3 separate regions of the Homo sapiens genome follow, and all the other regions are linked to region 2. Evidence: promoter capture Hi-C in 16 types of primary human blood cells and fetal thymus (Javierre and others, 2016). All regions are on one chromosome and are shown on one strand. Each heading gives the region's core, a stretch centred on a gene start or on the middle of the fragment in contact. The rest is flanking DNA. Distances are from core to core; before and after follow the strand shown.

Region 1 (4,055 bases), core at 1,333-3,832, 190 kb after region 2:
AGTCAGGAGATTGAGACCATCCTGGCTAACATGGTGAAACCCCGTCTCCATTAAAAATACAAAAAAATTAGCCGGGCATGGTGGTGGGCGCCTGTAGTCCCAGCTACTTGGGAGGCTGAGGCAGGAGAATGGCATGAACCCGGGAGGTGGAGGTTGCAGTGAGCCGAGATCGCACCACTGCACTCCAGCCTGGGTGACAGAACGAGACTCCGCCTCAAAAAAAAGAAAAAAAGAATTCAGGGCGAGTCCATAGAGTAAAGTGAAAGCAAGTTTATTAGGAAAGTAAAGGAATAAAACAATGGCTACTCCATAGACAGAGCAGCCCCGAGGGCTGCTGGTTGCCCATGTTTATGGTTGTTTCTTGATGATATGCTAAACAAGAGGTGGATTATTCATGCCTCCCCTTTTTAGACCATATAGGGTAACTTCCTGTCATTGTCATGGCATTTATAAACTGTCATGGCATGAGCCACCATGCCCGGCCATGACCTGTATCTTATGGCAACCTCCTATCTCATTCTGTAACTTAGAATGCTTTAACCATCTGGGAATGCAGCCCAGTAAGTCTCATTCTCATTTTACTCAGCTCTTGTTCAAAATAGACTTGCTCTGGTTCACGTGCCTCTGACATTTCCCCCCTTCCTTTTATAAGAGAAGCACTAATCCTAAGGGTTGCAGAGGGACGAAGGTCCATCTTCTGTAAGTTCTTCAGGATGAATAGGGGCGATGATATTTTTGCCTAACTCTTAGAATCTCTCATATTCGTGGTAGAGAGGAGCTCAGTTGGAAAGTGTTGGTATGGGCCAGGCGGGATGGCTCATGCCTGTAATCCCAACACTTTGGGAGGCTGAGGCAGGCGGATCACCTGAGGTCAGGAGTTCAGACCAGCCTGGCCAACATGGTGCAACACTGTCTCTACTAAAAAATACAAAAAAAATAGCCAGATGTGGTGGCGGGTGCCTGTAACCCTAGCTACTCAGGAGGCTGAGGCAGGAGAATCTCTTGAACCTGGGAGGCGGAGGTTGCAGTGAGCCAAGACTGTGCCATTGCACTCCAGCCTGAAAGAATGAAACTCCATCTGAAAGAAAAGAAAAGAAGGGAAGGGAAGGGAAGGGAAGAAAAAGCATTGGTATCTTGAGGGCCATTCATAACTCATGAGTTCTGACAAAAGGTGATACTCTGGAAGATTCATAAGTGTTCAGTTTAAGGAAACATTCAGTAAGCTTGTCCTCCATTCCTATACAAAGATTACAACAGCTATACATTCCACAACCATAAAGCAAAATAAGTAAAATTATCCCAAGTAAACTAAACTAGAAGGCTTTCCATGAACTGAGGAACTGTTGGAACCACGCTGATATGAGGTTGCTAGATGATTCCAGTACATGCCCAGAATTAGAATATTGATGCAGATTTTTACATTACCCATCCCTCTTGTTTCTTCTGAGCAGCAGTCAGAGGCCACTGGTTGGTTCACAGGACTAAGCAGGGTTAGCCTAAATTGCAGAAACAAACTTAAAGACAACTGATGAGACTGGAATTTAATAACAAGTGTATCATAGTTCTTGAAACATAATTTTTCTCTCTCCAGTTTCCCATTTTTATGAAAGACCATTTTTATGGTAAGACCAATGTGCTTTATTATACTTGGCCTGATGATTGTATAAAGTGCAGCAAGAATAATTATTTTTCACGTAGGCTTTTAAAATTGGCTTTGATGGAACTCTGTTCCATAGAAAGAATCTTGGATAAGACTTTTTAAAGCTGAGCCCTGCCATGGGTTTGTGCCCTCAAATACCTTTGAGTTGGGTAAATTCTTCCTCTCCTTTTGAGGTCCCCAGATAACTTGGGGCTCCTGGACCTTTTAGAAGGTGACATTCTTTACTTACCACAGGTCAGAAACCCTGTACAGGGACTGTGTAGGCAAGGTTATGAGCCCAGGTCGCTAAGTGGCTTTTATAGGCTTTACAAGTCAAGTTTGATTCCTTAATGGAAAGCACACCATTCCAGTCAAACCCTTCATAAAATAAACAATTTCTCCAATTGTGTCCTGTTGCAAAAGAAAACAGATTCTTATTACCCTTATGCAAATAACTGCATTGCCATAAATTAAGAATACACACAAATAATTTCCAAATTCTGGAGAAATCAAGTAGAGAGATGCATATACTCCAAATTTTGTTCACAGGAGTATACTTTACTCGATTATTAAAAGCTGTAAATATCTGAAAAGAAAAGTTGCCTTGACTCTAAAAAATAAAACAAAGGATCAGCAATGTTTTAAGCAAAGGCAAAAAGATTGCTTTAGTCTTCTTTAGTTTATGCAGTTAACTTTTGTTTGATATCTATGAACATTTCAGCTCCCCATGAGAGTTCTGAAAGTTGTTTCCTCTATTCTAATGTCACAATCTCCAAAGTTATCAGAAACCTGCATTTAAGTGCACCTGTTAAAGTCCTATGGCTGATTATAAACTACCTTCTAAAGAAGATCAAAACAAGACAACAATTGTCTGTGGATGATAAAAAGTCTTAGGGCCAGGTGCAGTGGTTCACATCTGTAATCCCAGCACTTTGGGAGGCGGAGGCAGGTGGAACATTTGAGGTCAGGAGTTTGAGACCAGCCTGGCCAACATGGTGAAACCCCGTCACCACCAAAAATCCAAAAATTAGCCGCATAGGGCAGGTGCCCATAATCCCAGCTACTCAGGAGGCTGAAGCAGAGGAAGTGCTTGAACCCAGGAGGCAGAGGTTGCAGTGAGCTGAGATCGTGCCACTGCACTCCAGCCTGGGTGACAGAGCAAGAATCTGTCTCAAAAAAAAAAAAAAAAAAGTCTTAGGACAGCCACTAGTAAAGCCACAATTAACTAGGAAATTTTGGTTACTTCTGTTGCATACAAAATTTTATGTAACAATTATTAATAACATACGCTAAGTCATATTAGAATTATAGGAATTTCTCATAATTTTGGAACATGTACCAATAACACATTTAATCTAATGCTCCAAAGTAGATAAACTGAACAATTTTTTTTGTTGTTGTTGTTTTTTGTTTTTTGGGTTTTTTTGTTTTTTTAAGACAGAGTCTCCCTCTGTTGCCCAGGCTGGAGTGCAATGGCATGATCTCGGCTCACTGCAACCTCTGCCTCCTGGGTTCAAGTGATTCTACTGCCTCAGCCTCCTGAGTAGCTGGAATTACAGGTGCGCACCACCATGCCTGGCTAATTTTTTGGTATTTTTAGTAGAGATGGGGTTTCACCATGTTGGCCAGGTTAGTCTTGAACTCCTGACCTTGTGATCTGCCTGCCTCAGCCTCCCAAAGTGCTGGAATTACAGGCGTGAGCTACTGCACCCAGCCTAAAATTGAACAATTTTTAATAGTCAAAGAAGCAGCTTATGACCTTAAAGAATTTAGCAAACTTAATATCTGACCTGTATAATTTAGACCAAATGTTTACATTTTTTTTTGTTTGTTTGTTTGTTTCTTTTTAGTCAGAGTCTCGCTCCATCACCCAGGCTGGAGTGCAGTCGCTCAATCTCGGCTCACTGCAGCCTCTGCCTCCCGGGTTCAAGCAATTCTCCTCCCTCAGCCTCCCAAGTAGCTGGGACTACAGGCTTGCACCACTACACCTAATTTTTGTATTTTTAGTAGAGATGGGGTTTCACCATGTTGGCCAGGCTGGTCTCGAAATCCTGAGCTCAAATGATCTGCCCGCCTTGGCCTCCCAAAGTGCTGAGATTACAAGCATGAGCCACCGCACCCGGACAAAATGTTTACATTTTTGAAGATTTTTTATTTTACCAATAATCTTTAAAACTGTATTTATTTCCCAAAGATTACTTAAGTCACATGAACTAAATAAAGGGTATTCCACTTTTTACTTTTCTGATAAAATGTTTGATTTAAGCAATTCTTATTGTTAAACCAATTAATTAAAGCTTTTCCATATATAAACATTACACACATAATACATATAAATACACAGACAGACAGAAGATAAGGATCATCCCCTAAACTGGGAATTGGACTTTAAACCAGGGCTGCCATTATGAAAAGA
Region 2 (4,045 bases), core at 1,408-3,907:
AGCTGGGACTACAGGCACACACTACCACGATGGCTAATTTTTGTGTTTTTAGTAGAGATGAGGTTTCACCATGTTGGCCAGGCTTTATCTGTGTTTTTAAAAAGACCTAAAGAATACATAAGGAGCTCTTACAACTCACCAACAAAGACAACAAATAAACCAATTAAAAAGTGAGCAAAGGATCTGCTAGACATTTCTCTGGAGATATACAAATGGCCAATAAGCACATGAAAAGATGCTCTGCAACTTTGGCCACTAGGAAAATGCAAATCAAAACCACAAAGATAACACTTCATATCAATCAGGGTGGCTAAAAGCAAGAGATACAGACAACATCCTCTATCTCTAACAAGTATTGAGGACATGAAGAAACAGGGGCCCTCATATTGCTGGTAGGAATGTAAAATGGTGCAGCCACTTTGGAAAAGTTTGGCAGGCTCTCAAAAAGTTAGACAGGGAATTACGATATGACCCAGCAAGTCCACTCCTGGGTAACTATTCAAGAGAAATTCAAATATGTGTCCACACAAAGACTTTTCCACAAATATTCATAGCAGTGTTGCTTATAATAGCCAAAAAGTGAAAACAATCCAAATATCCATCAACTGATGAATGAATAAAGTGCTGTATAGCAATACAATAGAATATTATTTGGCAATATAAAACGAATGTAGTAGTAATACATGCTATACGACCTGGATGAATCTGAAAAATGATGCTAAGGGAAAGAAGGCCACATATTGCATGATTCCACTTCTCTGAAAAGTCCTGACTAGACAAATCTATATAGACAGAAAGTAGATTAGTGGCTGTCTAGGACTGGGAAGGCGGAGAGGGAAATGAGGAGTGACTGCTAATTGACGGGAGATTTCTTTTGGGGGTGATGGAGATGTTCTAAAATTAGATTGTTGCGATGGTTGTACTGTAAACACACCAAATATACTGAAAACACTTGAGGTGCACACTTAAAACAGGTGAATTTTATGGTATGTGAATTATATCTCAATAAAGCTTTAAAAAAATGTCACTACGCATTTTCAAGAACGTCAGTATGAGCACGCATTTCTTCATTTTAGCTTTCCCACCTCACAAACCACCACCCACACAAATGAGGCCGTCCACAGTCGCCATCATTCTGTTTCCATTGTATATGAGGACTCAGTGTTGGTCAGCCCCTTCAGCACATTTAGTTTGCTAAACCAAAAGATTTCCGTTCAGTAAACTAAGTTTAAATTTCTTTTTTTAAACCAGAAAGGTGTTTTTTTGTTTGTTTGTTTTTTGTCTTTTTGAGACGGAGTCTCGCTCTGTCGCCCAGGCTGGAGTGCAGTGACTTGATCTCAGCTCACTGCAACCTGCGCCTCCCGGGTTCAAGCGATTCTCCTGCCTCAGCCTCCTGAGTAGCTGCAACCATAGGCGCGCACCACCACGCCCGGCTAATTTTTGTATTTTTAGTAGAGACCAGGTTTCACCATGTTGGCCAGGCTGGTCTCGAACTCTTGATCTCAGGTGATCTGCCCGCCTCGGCCTCCCAAAGTGCTGGGATTACAGTCGTGAGCCACCGCGCCCGGCCTCAGAAAGCTTTTAAAGGGCTTCGAAGGGAGGGAGGAATGGCAGAGGCGTCTTTTCCCTTAAAGTGGCCACAGTTCTGCACACGGCACTCCCCGCCCGCACAAATCCAGACTAGGAGGGCCGCTCCCAACCGGCGCGAGCGAGCGACGGCCCCGCGGGAACAGCGACCCCTTTCCCCCATCAGTCGGGACGAGGGCGTTTCCCATGGCTGCCTGCCGACGCCCCTCCCTCCCAACCCTCGCCTGGCATCCCGGGACCTGGGGCCGACAAGCCATACCTCGTCTCGCGGGCCACGCGCGTGCACCTGCGATCGCGACGCCCAGCCTTCGCGCCTTCTCCCTCCGCGCTCCGCCCCCTCTGAGCCCGGGGGCACGGGGCGGGGCTTGCCGGCAGCCAATCCCCGGCGGCCACGGCGGGAAGAGCCTCGCGCTGCCCAGGACCGTGTGCCACCGAAGAGTAACGGAACTAGCGCAGGAGCTGGCGACCGTTGTCCCTGCGCCCGGACCTCGGGCCGCAACCTCTGCCCTACCGCCAAAAATAACGTCTGCAGAAAGAGTGGAGTAGAGCGGAGTGGGTGGGCGAGGGGCTTCCTTCCCGGGGGTGAGCGGCGCACGTGACACTCCTGGGCGCGTGTGAAGGCAGCGCCCGGCCGAGACCGGCTCGGTGCAGACGCGGGCTGTCGGCGGCAGAAGGGGGCTCTCTGCTCAGTGGGGCGCGGCCGATCCGCACGTGCGGCCGCCGCCCCTTTCTCCAGAGCTCGCAGCCCGACCCGCCTCTGCCATGGCGCTCACCCCGCCGCCCCCAGCTCTGGGCAGGAGGTGGCGGGGCTGGGAGGCGCCAGCCGCGGAGGGGAGGGGCGCGCGGAGTTGATGGGCCGCTCGCCGTCCGTCCACCGTCTGTCGCTGCGCCGGGGATACTCCCGCCGCCTCCGCTCGGTCCTCTCTGGTCCCTGGGAGCGTGGGCTGGGCCGCAGGGGGCTTCCGTGGGCCTGGCCTCTCCCACCGCAGGAGGAAAGAGCAGGGGGAAGCCCCCGGCGCCCGCCGCCTCCGAGAGCCACGGTGTCCTCGGGCCGGGCAGGCGTTGAAGACGAGCCCGGGCGGGGCCCCCCGCGCGTCGTGCCTGTCGCCTGCCGTGTCCGGAGCAGAGGCTAGCGCCCGCCCGCTCGGCGCCCCGAGCCGTGAGAACCCCACCCTGCCGGGCGTGGGCGACGGCCGGCCGGGGGCGCACGGAGCAGCCGTCGCGGGGCCTCGCCGCGGCCTCCAGCGCCCCAGTCACGGGGAATGCAGTGGTCCCCGACCCCTGGCGCCTCTGCGTGTCTGGGCTGGGCTTCCTCGCTCGCCTGCTCCACGGCCCCGACGCTCCTGGGCCGAGCCGGCCGGGGCCCCCTCATGGCGGCCAAGTGGTTCAAGGAGTTCCCCCTGAACCTGAAGACCGTGTCGGAGCGGGCCAAGCCCGGGGGCGGCGGCGGCAAATTGCGCAAGAACTCGGAGGCGGGCGGCGCTGGGCCGGGTCCTGGCAAGGGCCGCAAGAACTCGGCGGCCGAGCTGGGGAGCGGCAGGGCCGGCGTCGGCCCCAAGGACAGCCGGCTGTCCCGCGACAGCCTGCAGGGTCTGATTCAGGCCGCCGCGGGCAAGGGCCGCAAAAACTCCCGGGCCACGGAGGAGGAGCCCCACCGGGGTGCAACCAAGAGCTCGGGCTGCAGCACCTACATCAACAGGCTCATCAAGGTGGACACTCAGGAGAAGAACGGGAAGAGCAACTACCCCAGCAGCAGTAGCTCCAGCTCCAGCTCCTCTTCCTCCGCGTCCTCTTCCCCTTCCTCCCTGGGGCCCGAGCTGGACAAGGGCAAGATTATTAAGCAGCAAGAGACGGTAAGAATACAGCCTCCCTTGGACCACCTCTCAGTCGAAGGGGAGCCCTGGGCGCCTGCTAAGCCCTAGGCTTCTTTAGACCTAAGAGGCAGTGAGGATAGGTTTCCTAAGGTCCTTTCTCCCTCCACCATTTGGGAATTCCTGACCATTTAAAATTCTTAGACTGTTTTTTAATTCTTGAAAAACTCTTATTTTAGAGGTGGGGAGTTTTGCAGAAATGTACTAGCCATTGAATTTTGTTAGCAGTTTAGAAGAGTCGTTGAATGAGATATTCCTGTTTGGTTACATTTGACCCCTTTATAGATGTGGTTCATTTTAATTTTGATATTCAGGGGAATTGCAAAGCTAGGCTTGTGTATGACTTTTATGCTTCTTGAGCATAAGGAATGGTAACCTCTCAAGTGTGTAGATATGCATTTCAAAGCTTCAGGAAATGGTTTAACCAACAGTCTTCTCCACTGATTTGGAAGTTCCATCATTTTCTGCGGTTCCACCGAGTAAAGGGCTCCTCGGAGGTTCAGCAAATCTCCAAGACTGCTGCCCTTTCATTCATTCCATGGGCATTTGTTGCGCAGCAGCCATATGAGGAAAGGAGCACAGGGCAT
Region 3 (3,695 bases), core at 548-3,047, 160 kb after region 2:
GGCTCACCACAACCTCCACCTCCCAGGTTCAAGCGATTCTCCTGCCTCAGCCTTCCCAAGTAGCTGGGATTACAGGCATGTGCCACCAAGTCCGGCTAATTTTGTATTTTTAGTAGAGATGGGGTTTCTCCATGTGGGTCAGGCTGGTCTTGAACTCCCAACCTCAGGTAATCCGCCTACCTCGGCCTCCCAAAGTACTGGGATTATAGGCTTGAGCCACCGCGCCCGGCCTGTTGTTTCCATTTTCAAAACATCTCTGGAATCTCACGGCCTTTTACTCTATTCCGAGCCCTCATTAGGCTCACCTGGTGACTGCTCTCACCTCCTAGTCTCCCATTTCCACCCTTGCCCCCTACACTTTATTATCCACGAAACTGTAAGAGCGGCCCTTTAAAAACATAAGTAAGCTTCTGGTATTTCTCTGCTCAAAGCCCTCCAATGGCTTCCTCTCACATTTAGATTAAAATTCAAAAACTCAAAGTTCTTCCTCTGACCCATAAGGGCTTAAATAATCCTGACTCATTCCACACCCCCACCCTCCAACTCATTTCCTCCACTCCTCCCCAGCTCCACGTGCAGAAGACCTCCTCCCAGGCCAGGGCTGAAGGCCTTTATATTGCTGTTTCCTCTTCCTGGATTGACAGTTCCCAGAGAGCCACATGGCAGGCTCCCTTTCCCTTTATTCAGATTTCTCTGTGCTAGCTGGGCACGGTGGCTCACACCTGTAATCCCAGCACTTTGGGAGGCCGAGGTGAGTGGATCACCTGAGGTCAGGAGTTCAAGACCAGCCTGGCCAACATGGTGAAACCCTATCTCTACTAAAAATACAAAAATTAGCCAGGCTTGGTGGCGTGTGCCTGTAATCCCAGCTACTCAGGAGGCTGAGGCATGAGAATCGCTTGAACCCGGGAGGCAGAGGCTGCAGTGAGTCGAAGGCTGCAGTGAGCCGAGATCGCACCACTGCACTCCAGCCTGGGCAAGACTCCTTCTCGAAAATAAATAAATAAATAAATAAAATAAACAGAATACTTGGCACATAAGAAATGTTGAATGTGCAGATTAGCTGATGGTCCTGTTAGTCCCAGAACAGCTGTGATTCCTCACCGATTCAAGGAGGCCACGGGGACTTACCCACAAACCGGAACTGGTTGGGAAACATGTCGAAGAGCCCATTGCTGTGCATGGCAAAGAGGATGGCAAAGTAAACAGCAAGGCTTCCCCAGATGAAGAAGTGGTTGATGGCCGTCCAGTAGCCTGTGTCGAGCCCAATCTGCAGAAAGTAGGCATAGTCAGGCAGGCGCACGCCCTAAAAGCCCCTTCCCCCAGAAACAGAACTGTGGTGCCCAGGGCAGCCCCAGGGACAGAAGGCTCACTCCTTCCAGAGAAGAGGGGAGTTCCTGGATGGCCTCATACCTGCACGCTAACCACAATGACCAAGGATGTGGCCACAGTGACTGCAAAGGACTGGTAGTCAGCCAGCTGAGTGCCATCATCCCGGGTGGCATCAGCAAACACCCCATAGGGAATGAAGAACATGAGCACGGAGGTGTAGATGCCCTGGGCGATGCAGATGAAGAACTCCCGCTTGTTGAAGAGAAGGTTCAGCTGGCCCGGCTCATACAGCTTAGGGTACTCCATGCTCCGCTGCTCGGGGACATCCTGTGTGGGAGGACCATGTAGCATAGGGGGCCTCAGAGGTTGCCGTTTTGACCCTGGATGACCAAGGGCAGACTCTGACTCTGTCCCTGCCTCCTCCTTTCCAAAGTCTTTGGCAGCTAGAACCAACCTCAAGCCAGCTACCCCCAGACTAACTTAGTTCAGCAACCCAAGAGAGTTCTAGATCAGCTGCAGCCAGGAGGGAGAACCAGCCACACCTTCCCCGGCTGAAAGAACTGCCTTCCCAGTGGCCACAGGAAATGGGCACAAGTGTCACACACCACGTCTATGTGACTCCTTCAAGCAGTGACCTTCCCCGCATCCCATCTGATCATCAAACTCCCCCATACCTGATCAAAGACCCCCATAGCCAGGACTGGCAGGGAGGTGTACACGATGTTATACAGGGTGATGAAATACTGGTCATAGACGGTCTGGAAGAGAACAGGGAGCAAGGGAGCATGCAACCTTTCTTTGCTACACATCAGGCACAGGAAGACAGCTGATGTCACATACAGAGAACCCTAAGAAATTTTCTGAGGCTCCTTCTCTCCTCCTTTAATAAGCATTTTTTAAGAGTATGTACCAGAAAATAGCTAGGCCCTGGGGGACTGAGTGATAAACAAGACAGAACCTCTGCCCTCAGGTTTACAGATTTGCACAACAGTGGACTGGGAACATTTATTACCTGGGCTGAGAAGCCACAGAAGAAGCCAAACCAGAAGTGGACCATGGTGAAAGCAAAGTTTTTGTAGAAGAAATAGCAAAGAAACTTGCACATTCGCAGGTAGGACCAGCGCCCATGCACCAGCAGGAGGCGCTGCAGGAACTTGAACTGGGAGAAGGAGTAATCGGAGGCCAAGACAGCCTGGATCCCTTCCTGCCCACTGATCCCCACACCAATGTGAGCCGCTGCAGAGACAAGAGATGACAAGAGGGTGAAGATGGCCACCGGCCACACACTTTAGAGCCTACCAAGTTACAACCCCCTTCCCGTCATTCTTCTGCAGTCCAGAGACCTCAGTGGGCCCCTCCCCAGCCTCAAGCCCAGCCTACACACCTGCACAGCCCACACTCACTTTTGATCATGCTGACATCATTGGCTCCGTCTCCAATGGCAAGCGTCACAGCCTTCTTGTACTTCTTGACCAGTTCTACCACCTGTGCCTTCTGCAAGGGGGTCACCCGGCAGCAGATGACAGCTTTGCAGGCACACGCTGTCTCCAGAAACTCCAGCTCCATGTCTGCCTCCAGTGCGTGGGCCTGGAGCACAGAGAAACCTGAGAGAGCCAGTCTTTCCAGGAGACACCTGGGAGTCTCAGCTCCTCCCAGTCCCCTTTGAGACCAGTCTTCTCTGAAATCAGGGGAAATTAGAACAAGATATAAAAGCCCTGGACAGAAGTGCTCACTGGAAAGATACTGCCCAAGCTAAGGATAGCGATGCCTACCAGGCTGTGACCATTTATGACCAGGGCGTACTCCCCAGCAACGGCCTCCAGGACAGAAGTTAGCTTGGAAGAAGAAAGCTTGTCCTGATAGGTGAAGCCGTTGCCTACGGAGCGGGATGAGTCCATCATCTTCTCCCGGGCTTTCCTGTCGAGGTGGAAATGATACGGTTGTGGTCTTCCAGAACGGCAGTGGGGAGCAGGGATTCAAGTCTAAATGGTCCAGAAACCCCCACCTGAGCCCTGGGCACAACGCACAGCACCGCCTCCCCTGGGCTTCTTGTTTACCTGAGCTCCTCCCGCACCTCCAGGACAGTATGGCCAGTGACTATGAAAACCTCAGTCATGTCATCCGTCAGCATCTTGCAGGAATAGCCGATGTTCACAGCCGTCTCTACCAAGAGAGAACGCAGGAGCTACGGACAGGCACCCAACAAGGTCAGCACACTTGCCTGCCTGATGTCCTCGGCTCCATGCAAGGGTCCAACAGGGCTACTGTCAGTTGCAACTGGCTCTGCCCTGCTGGGCTCTCACCTTGCTTGTCTCCGGTTAGCACCCAAATCTTGATGTTGGCCAGTGTCAGGAGGGCAATGG

What was found. The method cuts DNA at HindIII sites, captures the fragments that hold promoters and counts their contacts. A CHiCAGO score of 5 or more calls a contact.
Region 1: a contact is called between a fragment that was not itself captured here and the fragment with the promoter of TDRD10 in region 2, in 1 of 17 cell types (M2 macrophages). The highest score is 5.2, in M2 macrophages.
Region 3: a fragment that was not itself captured here is called in contact with the fragment with the promoter of TDRD10 in region 2 in 1 of 17 cell types (endothelial precursors); the score reaches 5.7 in endothelial precursors.

What each region holds. Positions count from the first base shown.
Region 1 is chr1:154,315,021-154,319,075 of GRCh38, reverse strand. No RefSeq gene overlaps it. Among named protein-coding and RNA genes, the nearest start is that of AQP10, 4.0 kb to the left of the region's middle. The HindIII fragment of the contact is 2,713 bases long and covers 1,226-3,938 here.
Region 2 is chr1:154,500,831-154,504,875 of GRCh38, reverse strand. TDRD10 (tudor domain containing 10) reads right to left here and starts at 2,657. Exons shown (of 13, transcript NM_182499.4): 1 at 1,847-2,657. It overlaps SHE (Src homology 2 domain containing E), which reads left to right and starts at 2,464. Exons shown (of 6, transcript NM_001010846.3): 1 at 2,464-3,440. The coding sequence starts at 2,850. The HindIII fragment of the contact is 2,286 bases long and covers 1,581-3,866 here.
Region 3 is chr1:154,344,195-154,347,889 of GRCh38, reverse strand. It overlaps ATP8B2 (ATPase phospholipid transporting 8B2), which reads right to left. Exons shown (of 28, transcript NM_001370597.1): 19 at 3,636-3,695; 20 at 3,390-3,495; 21 at 3,105-3,249; 22 at 2,736-2,919; 23 at 2,345-2,568; 24 at 2,007-2,090; 25 at 1,414-1,659; 26 at 1,132-1,270. Among named protein-coding and RNA genes, the nearest start is that of ATP8B2, 21 kb to the right of the region's middle. The HindIII fragment of the contact is 2,775 bases long and covers 410-3,184 here.